Regions from separate parts of the Homo sapiens genome. Here regions 2 and 3 are each linked to region 1. The links are contacts of gene promoters, found by promoter capture Hi-C in blood cells and fetal thymus (Javierre and others, 2016). All regions are on one chromosome and are shown on one strand. The core of a region is centred on a gene start or on the middle of the fragment in contact, and the rest is flanking DNA. Distances in the headings are between cores, read along the strand shown. Region 1 holds the start of NWD2 (NACHT and WD repeat domain containing 2). Region 2 overlaps LOC105374399 (a long non-coding RNA gene). Region 3 has its middle 4.2 kb from the start of MIR1255B1.

The links. Contacts are between HindIII fragments. The CHiCAGO score rates a contact against its expected background, and 5 or more counts as called.
Region 2: a contact is called between a fragment that was not itself captured here and the fragment with the promoter of NWD2 in region 1, in 1 of 17 cell types (endothelial precursors). The highest score is 5.4, in endothelial precursors.
Region 3: a contact is called between a fragment that was not itself captured here and the fragment with the promoter of NWD2 in region 1, in 1 of 17 cell types (M0 macrophages). The highest score is 5.6, in M0 macrophages.

What each region holds. Positions count from the first base shown.
Region 1 is chr4:37,242,466-37,246,534 of GRCh38, forward strand. It overlaps NWD2 (NACHT and WD repeat domain containing 2), which reads left to right and starts at 2,278. Exons shown (of 7, transcript NM_001144990.2): 1 at 2,278-2,753. The coding sequence starts at 2,603. The HindIII fragment of the contact is 7,136 bases long and covers 1-3,817 here.
Region 2 is chr4:36,362,763-36,366,831 of GRCh38, forward strand. It overlaps LOC105374399 (a long non-coding RNA gene), which reads left to right. Exons shown (of 3, transcript XR_925195.3): 3 at 3,060-3,652. Among named protein-coding and RNA genes, the nearest start is that of MIR1255B1, 62 kb to the right of the region's middle. The HindIII fragment of the contact is 1,261 bases long and covers 1,711-2,971 here.
Region 3 is chr4:36,428,547-36,432,615 of GRCh38, forward strand. No RefSeq gene overlaps it. Among named protein-coding and RNA genes, the nearest start is that of MIR1255B1, 4.2 kb to the left of the region's middle. The HindIII fragment of the contact is 1,536 bases long and covers 1,350-2,885 here.

The DNA.
Region 1 (4,069 bases), core at 1,028-3,527:
TGGTATCCTTCTTAGGTAGAATACTCCAAAGACAGCAGCCTCTCTAGCTGAGGCAAAGCTGGCTGTGCAAAGAGCCTTTTACAGCGTGGCCCACAGACAATGTGAAATTCTCTCTCCTCTGCAGCCTTGGTCTGCAGTGACACTGGCAGATGCTAAACTTCGGCCTGTCTAGAACAGTTAATTAGGTTATAGAGGCTGCCAAAAATCCCAAAGTCATCCAAAGAAAATGCAACACTTTGAGATCTGAAGCAAAGGTCAGAAGACACAAACACTAATCCTATTTCTGAGAAGAGAGAAACAAACAAAGAAGTAAGAGAAAAAAGAAAGGCAGGAAGGCAGGTCCCTGACAATCTGGCAACTTCTAATCACTCTTTTATAAACAATATTGAGATCAGGCATAAAGTGATCCTAGCTCTTTTCTCCAGTAATAGATACTGTATATTCATACACGATGATATGCAATAAATACCGCATATTCATGACCTTTCCACAGCTCTCAGTCCATACCTCTTGAGACAATAGAGGATCTTTCAGGGACCCCCTTCCTGCTGAGAACATTTCCACCCGAGAATGACTCTGGAGTGAAGAAATTGAATCAATTAAATAACTGGGTATGTTCAAGCCTTCTTTACGGGTTGCATCAAATTATCACAAAGTAAGAACTGCTGCTGTCTGCCCCCTGGTTCTCAGGAGTGGAGAGGCAGCCTTACAAACCTAGAGACCCAATTCTTCCAAAGAGGTTACCCCAGAACGTGTGTGTTGGGGCTGGGGTGGGGTAAAAAAATGAACAGCAGTGCATAGGACTTCACTGCCACCAGCAGGCCCCAGAGGAAGTGCAGGCCCAGAGGAGGCCGGGCTGCTTAGGTTAGGACCATCCAGGCAAGAAGAGAACACTTGCGTCTGAACTGCCTCACCCTGTGCCCGCCCACCCCTTCCCCAATCTCAGAGATTTGGAAAAACTGTTCTTCTTCCCTAAAAGACAGGTGTTCCTGCCCAGAAGCCCAGAATAAGTGATTTATTGACTAAACTGCAATTAAGGCTACAAACACTCCCTTCTCCCTGCGCCGTTGGCCCCCAACACAATTACACTTTATTTTGCGAGGTCTTCGTTCCTGTCCTGGCTTATGCAGTATTTCCATGGGTGCAGTGGAGTGGAAGGGAGACGGCGATTTTACATCTGGGTCCCTCTGCGTCTCATGTCACCTAGGACGTGGACTGGACCCCTGCGCCGTCCACCTTGAGCCCGGAACCCGAGGACGGCCCCGCGTCCTCTGTGGCCGCCCTGGATCAACTTCAGGTGGAGCTGACCTACGCGTTGCACTGACTTTGAAGAGCGGCTGAAGCGCACACAAGAAGCTGCTGCCCACAGCCAGCTCCGATTTCTCGCACCCCGGTCCCAATCCACGGCCACCTGCACTTTGCGTAACGTTGCGCTGGGGGGCGCTCCAGAGAACCCACACCCTCCCGCCCGGCCCAGGTGCGCACCCGGCCGCGCGGGGCTCCAGCAACCTGGCGGCCGACGGGCCCGGGAGCTGTCAGGCGAGCAGAACAGCCGGTGAGTGCGCCTTGATGGGAGCAGAAAGGCCCCTAGGAACCTTGGAGGCCTCGGAGGAACTACCCGCGGAGATCCGCTCCCAGAAAGGTTCCGGGACCACGCGGCGAGGAGCACGTGAACGGCGCAGCTTGGCTATAAAAACCCCGCTCAAGCGCGCGTGGGGAGCAACCGGAGCGGCAGGACGCTGCCACCTGCGCCAGGAGAGATAGGGATGAAGCGATCGTCCCTCCAGGACGCCAGAGACAATCTGGAGACTTGATGCTTTAAACTCTCCGGGTCTGGCTTGGGGTTGTGTGCGTCGAACTTTGAGGCTGGATTCCCTGCACTTGGGCAGAGACGCACAGACGCCCGAGCGTGTGGATTCCCGAAAATTCTCAGGGCTTGTGTGACCTTTAGGAGAGTTGGAGGGGGCGTAGTAGAAATCTCAGGCTAATTGATTTCTTGTCCTCCACCACGGAGGCAGACAGGAGCCCTCGGCTGTCCACAGAGGAGTCCAGGAGGCTCCTGCGCACCCCCGAGGCCCCCGCGCCCAAGCCCCGGCCGTCCTCTAAGCCGCAAGTTATTTCTGCGCCCGAGAGAGGCGGGCTCGGATAAAGTCGGGACGCCTTCTGGTACATAAAGTTTCATCTGCTCTCCTCGCTCGCACGGTCCCTGCCGCCTGGCGGCCCCCTCCTCCCACGGCGGGCGCGGGCGGGGAGATGGCCGCCGGCGCTTCCCGGCGCAAACGGGCGCTGCGCGCGTAGCCGCCGCCACGCTGACCTCCCGCTCCAGCTGGCTGCTGCTCGGAGCCCTAGCAGCGGGCGAAGGCGGAGGCCCAGAAGGGCAGGAGACCGCCGCGACAGGAGCCCGAGGGTCCGTATGGCTTCTCCTCGCCGGCGGGTGCTGTGCGCCACGGAGCTCGCCAAAGGCGCTTCGGGCTCGGAGCGGCTCTGAGCCGCGCCGCCTGCTGAGATCGACCGCCTGCTGAGCCGTTCCGTGGAGCTGCGGGCAGGAACCCGAGGAGCAGGAGGTGGCGGCGGCGGCAGTGGCTGTTCCTCCCAGAGGGCGATGTGGCCGGCCGGCGCGGGCACCAAGCTGCCCTGTCCCCGAGACTCTGCGCTCCGGCGGGCGGCTTTCTCTGGGAACCTCACGGCCCTGCCCTCTCACCTCGTGCCCGCCGGCCGCAGCGTCCGGGTCTTCATCAGCGCCAACCCTGAAGGTACGTCCCTCGCTCGGGTTTGCCCGTCCGTCCTTCTGTCCGTCAGCGCTGCGGGAGCTGGAGAGTGTGTGTCCGCCCCACAGCCCGGTGCGCCCTGCGCTCCCTTCCTCCAGCTAAAGCCGTGGCCGCCCTGAGCGCGTGGGAATTTAATTTGAATCACTTTTTTTCTCCCCTCGCTGGCCGGTTTTGCCTGCACACTTCTATTAGGACACCCATTCTCCACCCCGGGTTATTCCCCTGGGTCAATCCAAGAAACATCCAAGGCATTAGCCGGCCCTTCTGGAAGCTCCATTCTGCCGCCGCCGCCACCACCACCTCCTGTCCCCCGCCCTTTTTTTTTTTTTTAAAGCGGTTTCTTCTCCGAGATGACCGCAAACACAAACAGTAGCTCTCCTCCCCGAGGCGGGTTCCTGAGTGCGGGGCTACCTCCTTGGCCACTTTTTCCAGCTGAGGCGAGGTGAGTTCCTTGAGACTCTCCTCCTGCAGGTGCGATGGTGCCCTTTGCAGAGGCCAAGCAGACTTTTGTGAACCGGAGGTCGAGGGGGACACCCTCTGTGGGTCCCGGAACAGGCTTCGCGGTGGGGCGCGCAGGATGGGCTCATCTCAGTTGGGTCACAGGGCTTGGTCTTCTGTATCTAAAACTTGGCCTACTCAGTCATGTTCCTGCTTAAGGCACCTGGTAGGCACTCCATGAAAACTTGTTGATTTCTTGTTGCATTCACAACCACAGAGGTTGAACGCTGGGCGGTCAAATCCTGGCTCATCACTACCTTCCAGTCCTTAGTCCTCAACGTTAGATTTCATTCCCAGTAATTGGGGAGTTGGGGAAGGAAAGATGTATTTGACTGGGGCAGGATAAAACTGCAGGAATTGCTCTTTTCTAGGAAAAAAAATGTTTGGCTATGAGTCCATGGGAGACTGACAGAGGTGAAAGATTTGAGAATTAACGTTTTCTGCACTCTAACAAGCCTTGAGTCGAAAAGAGTCGAGGAGAAAAGTCCACATTCAAACGATCATTGGATATAATTCTCATTTGAAAACCCAAGGTTCTGGTTTCTTGAAAAAGCTTTCGGAGAAGACCAACAAAAGTAACTTTCTAGAAAATTACCGTTTCGGAAAAAATAGCACTAGCAGAAGTCTGAGGTAAAGCTTACATTATGAGAAGGAGTTGGGGAGAGAATCAAAACGATAACATGCACTAATTAGTATTAGAAAGACGATATACTCTTGGGGGACGGCACGACTGTCCTTTTATCAGTTTACAGTTCACTTTCAAAGAACTTAAGGAGGCTTTTAGGATGATATGGTACACTCAA
Region 2 (4,069 bases), core at 1,091-3,590, 880 kb before region 1:
TGTCAAATGAAAATACTGGAAATAAAAGTAGAGAACAGGGATGATAGCTTATGTGATCTCATCAGTGGACTTGACACAGCTGAGAAAAGAATCAGTGAACTTCAAGACTGGTTGACAGAAATTGCCTAAACTGAAACACAAAGATAAAAGACTGTGAAAAATGTATTAGAAAATACAAACAGCACATCTAAACCGTGATCTGATCCTGACTTCTGAAGTGAGGCTGAAGTGAAAAATAAATAAGCTAACATCAACGGAGATAACTCATCTAGACAGTGTGTAATCCTGATAGGATGTGACCAGAAGGGAACTTTACCTCGGTGGTCTTCCTCACAAAACTTATAACCCCGTCTAATCATGAGAAAAACATTAGACAAATTCCAGTTAAGAAACACTCTACAAAATACCTGACCCATACTCTCCCAAACTGTCAAGGTCATCAAAAACAAAGAAAGACTTAGTCACAGCTAAGAGGATCCTAGGCAGACATGATGACTAAATGTACTGTGTATTCTGGATGGGATCCTAGAAGATAAAAAGGATATAAAATACTAGTTGGTGCAAAAGTAATTGTGGTTTTTGCCATTAAAAGTAATGGCAAAAGTAATGTTTTTATTAGTTAAATAAAAAACTAAGGAATTATAAGTAAACTATGGCCTTTAGTTAATAATAATGTATCAGTCTTGAGTCATTAATCATGGTAAAGGCACTCTCCTGACACCAGATGTTAATAATAAGAAAAATTGAGTGTGAGGTATGTAGGAACTCTCTGTACTATCTTCACAATTTTTCTTTAAGACAAAAAAAATTCTAAAATAAAAAGATTATTTAAAAGTCAACAAGTTGATTTTTAAATATCATTTAAATAATTATACCAGTAGTATGTGGAAATGGCTAAAAAACTGTAAAGATGGTTTAAGAATAAGTGAGATTTGGGAAACACCGAATTAAAACAGTTAAGTGACTATACTATACCATGCTATTTCCCAGCTTATCTCACAGACAAAATTGTGATCTCTCTGTCCTGGGTTTGTACTCATTCAATTGCTTGATGATTCTGTATGCTTCCTTAGCTCAACAACATAACTCTCCCTCAGACTGAACACTTCCTGAGGGAAAACCAAACGCCTATCTTTCTTTCTTTCTCTTGGGGTCCTGCTTGACAATATTCAAAATGGATATGGAGTAATTATACACAAAGTCAATTAGGATGAAGATTTCTTATTGTATAATAAGTATAATAAGTATAAATAACACTTCCTTATACATTTTAAAAAAAAACCTTATGTCACTCATTTCCCTCAAGTGTTGAGCCATCCAGATTACTATCTTTTCCTTTAGAGTCATTCTAACATTTTGATTACTGATAATCACAGAATTACCACAGGGATTTTTTCCATGATCACTTACATCACCTTATACTGAGATCAAGATAGGTGAATTTCTTGATATTTGCCAGCTGTCAGTAAGTCTCCTTAGAGCTGGGAGAGCAAACAGGTATCATTTTGCAGGCCAATTTCAATCCCTTGCTGACAGCTGCCTGGAAATCTGTCCTGAGGAATCTGAGGCTTTGAATGCTAAGATCAGCCTGTAGGAGAAGGAGGGAGAATGAAGATGGCATGACAGCCCATGTGTCACATACCTGGCAAACTCAATTCGAAGACTATTTGACACTAGCAAGTGTTATCACTCCCATGAAGGGCCTCCAAAAGCTTGAAAAATGTAATATGGAAATGTATACACTTCCATGTGCAAATGTAAACATTTTGACATGTGGTAGGTGGTGAGGTTGGCATGGGACCTTCCTGGCCTCTCTCAGTTCCAACCATAAGAAGGTTCATCAATTTTCCTATTTGTGAGGTTGCTCTTTTGGGTGGTTTTTCATATATTTTCAGCAAAAGCCTTTTTGAGACTAGCTGAAACTCAGTTTTTAGGTAAAAATTATGAGTAAATAATGATTACTATCATTTATAAGGGAAAAAGAAAATAAATTCAGATGAACATAGGGAAGTAAAAAGTTTCATTTTACAGCTTAGAATTTATTGGAAGCAGAGAGGCCAAAAGGCAATCCCTCAAATTTTAAAAAAAGGCTTCCTAGTTATCCTGATTTCTGGGAAATCTCTGAATCACTTTTGACTTATCATATATGCCAATATATGTCTCACCAACTGAGTTTATTCAAACTCAGACTGAGTGGGAAGAAAGTCAATCAATTACCTCCCCATCTCACCTTATGTGCCACCCTGATTATTCCTGGCTGAGAAAGATGGTACTGTGATTATCAACTAGTTACAACTAGTCAAAAGGTTTTCAGAATTTCTACTTATAAGGAGTGTTTCTAGAAGACTAATTAGTAGGTAACCCCTGCATTGCATCACTAATCAGCTATATTGAGAATTAGATAAATGTTTCATTAATTTTGCTTCTCTGGGGCCTGGGGCAAATCAGATTTCTCCTCCTCTGTCTTCATGCTGAGAGCGATTTGACTCTGATACATGCAGTTTCCTTCCTTCTGCCCATCTATGTCTTTATCCATTCATCACACTAATCAGCAAACATTTTATTGAGCATCTACTGTTATCAAGCATACAGAGATAAATAAGTCAGTTTTTGTTCTCAAGAAGATCATACTTGTGTGGGAGAATTATATGCTCCAAGTGTCAAGTGCTAGGACAGAGATAGGTACAAGGTGTGCTGTGGGTAAAAATGAAGGTAGGGTTGCTTTTTGCATCAAGTAGATCATGTACATGGAATGAATGTGAGTCAAGCACCATAAATCTACCAGGGAGAAAAGGTAGAGAAGGGCCTCTACAAAGCATGGGCATCAAATAAGAGCACAGCTCTCTATTTCAGTTTTCTGAAAATAGATCAGAAGTGCAATTAGTGTCTGCCAAGGTTTCAAGAAAAAAAAAATTTGAAGAGCAGAAAAACTAAATGTCAATGCTTTTATAAGAAATGTCATATCCGGATAAGCTTTTCATACAAATTGGGAGTTAAAGTACAGGGAACTTAAGGCTGACTCTAAAGGGCATTATGATTGAATGATTTCTATCCAATAGAAAGCACCTGGATCGATGCTGAGGCCAAGTAAATAAGAACAGGAGGATGCCTCTCCCTGAGCCCTGGCAGAAGCATTAGACTGATGGATTGTGGTCCTTGCTTCAGAGAAGGATGCCCACTCTTTTGTTAGTTGAAATATCTGCTTTGTTCATTAATCTGACAAGTGAACATAGGAGACTTGCTTGAAAACACATCCATCTCTTCCTGGACTCTGCAAAGATACTTTCCTTGGCAAGTGAAAAGTCAAAAGCCTACCTGCAGTGACATTTGCATCATGAGTGACAGTAACAGATGAAAATTTAAACCTTCCATGCACCATTTGGAAGCATCAGTGGGAAAGTCTCTATTCATTAGTTTGAAGCTGGGGGCTTCCATAGTACTCTGTTTGCCAGCCAAACTGGGAATGTAGTTATTTGGCTATATTAGGGCTGTCAACCTAAATAACAGAGAGAGGTTTCCTAAGAGAAAAGATGTTCATTTGGGAATAGAGTATTAGAATAGGGATATGCATGCTGTAGTACACTATGTGCATATCCAAGGAGGTAAAGGAAGACAAAAGTTTTTAAAAGAAATTAATGAGAATTAGATAATTGTTTTTAAATAATTATCTTTGGCTGCAAAAATCAATAACAAGGGTGAGTAATGCCAGTTCAAGGTTAGATGTGCAGTTACTGAACAGATACACTTGCAGAAGCATTTTCTTTGTGTAAGTTTTGGATGGACTTTGTGCAAGGTTGTGGTTTTGTGGAGTCTTTTTCATTATCAGGCATACAAATGTGAGAACCCTCTCTTCATGGCCTCCCTTAATTCTATTTTTCAGGGTTTTTGTTTTTGTTTTTGTATTTGGTTTTTTTTTTTTTTTAGACATAGACTCGCTCTGTTGCCTAGGCTGGAGTGCAGTGGTGTGATATCGGCTCACTGCAAGCTCTGCCTCCCGGGTTCACGCCATTCTCCTGCCTTAGCCTCCCTCCTGAGTAGCTGGGACTACAGGTGCCAGACACCACACCCG
Region 3 (4,069 bases), core at 868-3,367, 810 kb before region 1:
TAGACAGATCATTGAGGCAGAAAATTAATAAAGGTATTCAGGACCTGAACGCTATACTTGATCAAATGGAGCTAATAGACATCTACAGAATGCTCCACCCTAAAACAATGGAATGTACATTCTTCTCATCACCACATGGTACATACTCCAAAATCAACCACACATAAAACAATCCTTGGCAATTTCAAAAAAACTGACATCAACTAACCACACTCTGGGAACACAGTACAATAAAAATAGAAATGAATACTAGAAAGTCATTCAAAATCATACAATTATACAAAAATTAAACAGCCTGCTCCTGAATGACTTTTGGGTAAATAATGAAATTAGGGCAGAAATCAAGAAATCTTCGAAAATGATGAGAATAAAGATACAACATACCAAAATCTCTGGGACACACCTAACGCAGTGTTAGGAGGGAAGCTTATAGCACTAAACACCCACATCAAAATGTTAGATCTCAAATGAACAACCTAACATCACAACTAGAAAAACTAGAGTAGCCAGAGCAGATCGACTTCAATCTATTGAAAGACAAGAAATAACCAATATCAGAACTGAACTGAAGGAAATTGAGATACAAAAACCATACAAAAGATCAACAAATCCAGGAGTTGGTTCTTTGAAAAAATTCATAAGGGAGATAGACTACTGGCTAGACTGATAAGGTAAAAAACAGAGAAGATCCAAATAAACACAATTAGAAATGATAAAGGAGATGTTACCACTGACTTCATAGAACTACAAAAAACCGCCAGAGACTACTATGAAAAGCTCTATCCAAACTACAAAACCTATAAAAAATAGGTAAATTTTTGGACACATACAACCTCCCAAGATTGAACCAGGAAAAAATTGAATCCCTGAACAGACCAATAACAAGTTCCAAAATTGAATCAGTAATAAAAAGCCTACCACCAATAACAAAAAAAGCCCAGGATTAGACACATTCGCAGTTGAATTCTACCAGATATAAGAAGAAGAGATTGTATCATTCCTACTGAAATTATTCCAAAAGTTTGAGAAGGAGGGACTTGTCCCTCCTAAGCTCATTCTAAGGTGCCAGCATCATCCTGATATAAAAATCTGGCAGACACACAAAAACAACAACAACAACAAAAACTTAAGGTAAATATCCTTGATGAACATAGCTACAAAAATCCTCCACAAAATACTAGTAAACCAAATCCAGCAGCACGTCAAAAAGCTAATCTACCACACTCTAGTAGGCATTATCCCTGGGATGCAAGGTTGAGGCACAACATACACAAATCAATAAGTGTGATTCATCACATAAACATAACTAAAGCCAAAAAACACACGAGCATCTCGACAGATGCAGAAAAAGCTTTTGATAAAATTTAACATTCCTTCATGTTAAAAACTAGGGAATGAACATACATCAAAATAATAAAAGCCACCAATGACAAACCCACACCTAATATCATACTGAACAGGCAAAATCTGCAAGAATTCCCCTTGAAACCAGGCACAAAACAAGGATGTCCTCTCTCACCACTCCTATTCAATATAGTATTAGAAGTCCTGGCCAGAGCAATCAGTCAAGAGAAAGAAATAAAAGGCATCCAAATAGGAAGAGAGGAAGTCAAGCTATCCCTGTTTGCAGACAGTAAGATCCTATATCTAGAAAACCCCATAGTCTCTGCCCAAACGCTCTGTGATCTAAGAAGCAACTTCAGCAGTTTCTGGATACAAAATCAGTGTATGCGAATTAGTAGAATTCCTATTCACAAACAACATCCAAGCTGAGGGACAAATCAGGAATGCAATCCCATTCACAACTGCCACAGAAAGAATAAGATACCTAGGAGTACAGCTAATCAGGAAGGCATTAATTCTCTACAATGAGAATTACAAAACACTGCTCAAAGAAATTAGAGATAATCACACAAATGGAAAAACATTCCATGATCATGGATAGGAAGAATAAATGTTGTTAACATGGCCATACTGCCCAAAGCAATTTACACATAAAATGCTATTCCTATCAAACTACCAATTATGTTTTTCACAGAACTAGAGAAACTATTTTCAAATTCAAATGGAACCAAATACAGCTTGAATAGCCAAGGCAATCCTGAGAAAAAAGAACAAAGCTGGAGGCAACCCATTACACAACTTCAAACCCTACTACAAAGCTACAGTAACGCAAACAGCATGATACTAGTACCAAAACAAACATATGCACCAATGGAACATAATAGAGTCCAGAAATAATGTTGCACACCTACAACCACCTGATCTTTGACAAAGCTGACAAAAACAAGCAAGGGGGGCTGGGCATGGTGGCTTACACATGTAATCCCAGCACTTTGGGAGGCAGAGGCAGGTGGATCACAAGATCAGGAGATCGAGACCATCCTGGCTAACAAGAAGAAACCCCATCTCTACTAAAAATATAAAAAATTAGCCGGGTGTGGTGATGCACGCCTGTGGTCCCAGCTACTCGGGAGGCTGAGGCAAGAGAATCGCTTGAACCTGGGAGGTGGAGGTTGCAGATATCGCACCAGTGCACTCCAGCCTGGGCGACAGAGTGAGACTCTGTCTCAGAATACAAACAAACAAACAAACAAAAAACAAGCAATGGAGAAATAAATAATTCCCTATTTAATAAGTCAATAAGTGGTGCTGGGATAAGTGGCTACCCATATGGAAGATTAATCCTGAACCCCTTCCTTACAAAAATCAATTCAAGATAGATTAAAGACTTAAATGTAAAATGTATAAATATAAAAACCTTGAAAGATAACCTAGGAAATATCATTCTGGACACAAGACTTGGTAAAGATTTCATGACAAAGACTCCAAAAGCAACTGAAACAACAACAACAACAACAAAATTGACAAATGGGATCTAATTAAGCTTAAGAGCTGTTTCACAGCAAAACAAACTATCAACAGAATAAACAGACAACCTATAGAATGGGGGAAATATTTGCAAATTGCAAATATTGCAATCTGACAAAGGTTCAATAACCAGAATTTATAAAGACACAAATTTACAAGCAAAACACAAACAACCCCATTAAATAGTGGGCAAAGGACTTGAACAGACTCTTTCCAAAAGAAGACATACATGTGGCCAACAAGCACATGAAAAAATGCTCAACATCATAGTCATTAGAGAAATGCAAATCAAAACCACCATGAGATGCTATCTCACACCAGTCAGAAAGGCTATACTAAAAAGTCAAAAAGTAACAGATGGTGTCAACCTTACAAAGAAAAGGGAACACTTATACACTGCTTGTGAGAATGTGAATTAGTTTAACCATTGTGGAAAGCAGTATGGCAATTCCTCGAAGAACTCGAAACAGAAATATCATTCTACCTAGCAATCCCATTATTGAGTATATACCCAGAGGAATATAAATTATTCCACCATAAAGATACATGCACGCATATGTTCCTTGCAGCACTATTCACAATAGCAAAGACAAAAGCTAGAGGCCTAGCTTTTGGCTTACCTCAAATTTGACACGTCCTTCTAGCTTTTGATTTGAAGTGAGAGACATGCAACTCTTTCTCACTTTCTCTGCCATCGTAGGATTATTAATTGGCCTAATTTTAATATTGTTGTGTCTCAGGAAATAGGGAAGCCTGAGAACAAAGAGATAGATTGGGAAATGGCTGGTTCATGGAGCAGTCAGAAAACACACAGCATGCATCAATTAAGTTTGCTGCAGGCATCTTTCATGGTGTCCCCCCAAAATTGCAATAGGAAAATCAAAGATCACTGATTACACATCTCTATGACAGATATAATAATAATAATAATAATAATAATAATAATAAAGTTTGAAGTGTGAGAATTATCAGAATGTGACATGCAGACACAAAGTGAGAATATGCTGTTAGAAAAATGGTACCAACAGACTTGGTAGAAGCAGCTTTGCCACAGACCTTCAGTTTGTAAAAAACAGAGTATCTGTGAGGTGTAATGAAACAAAGTGCCATAAAATGAGGTATGTCTGTATTTAGAACTATGAGATCTGTCTCTACAACCAAATACATTTGTAAAAAATATTTAAATTATTTGTGCAAA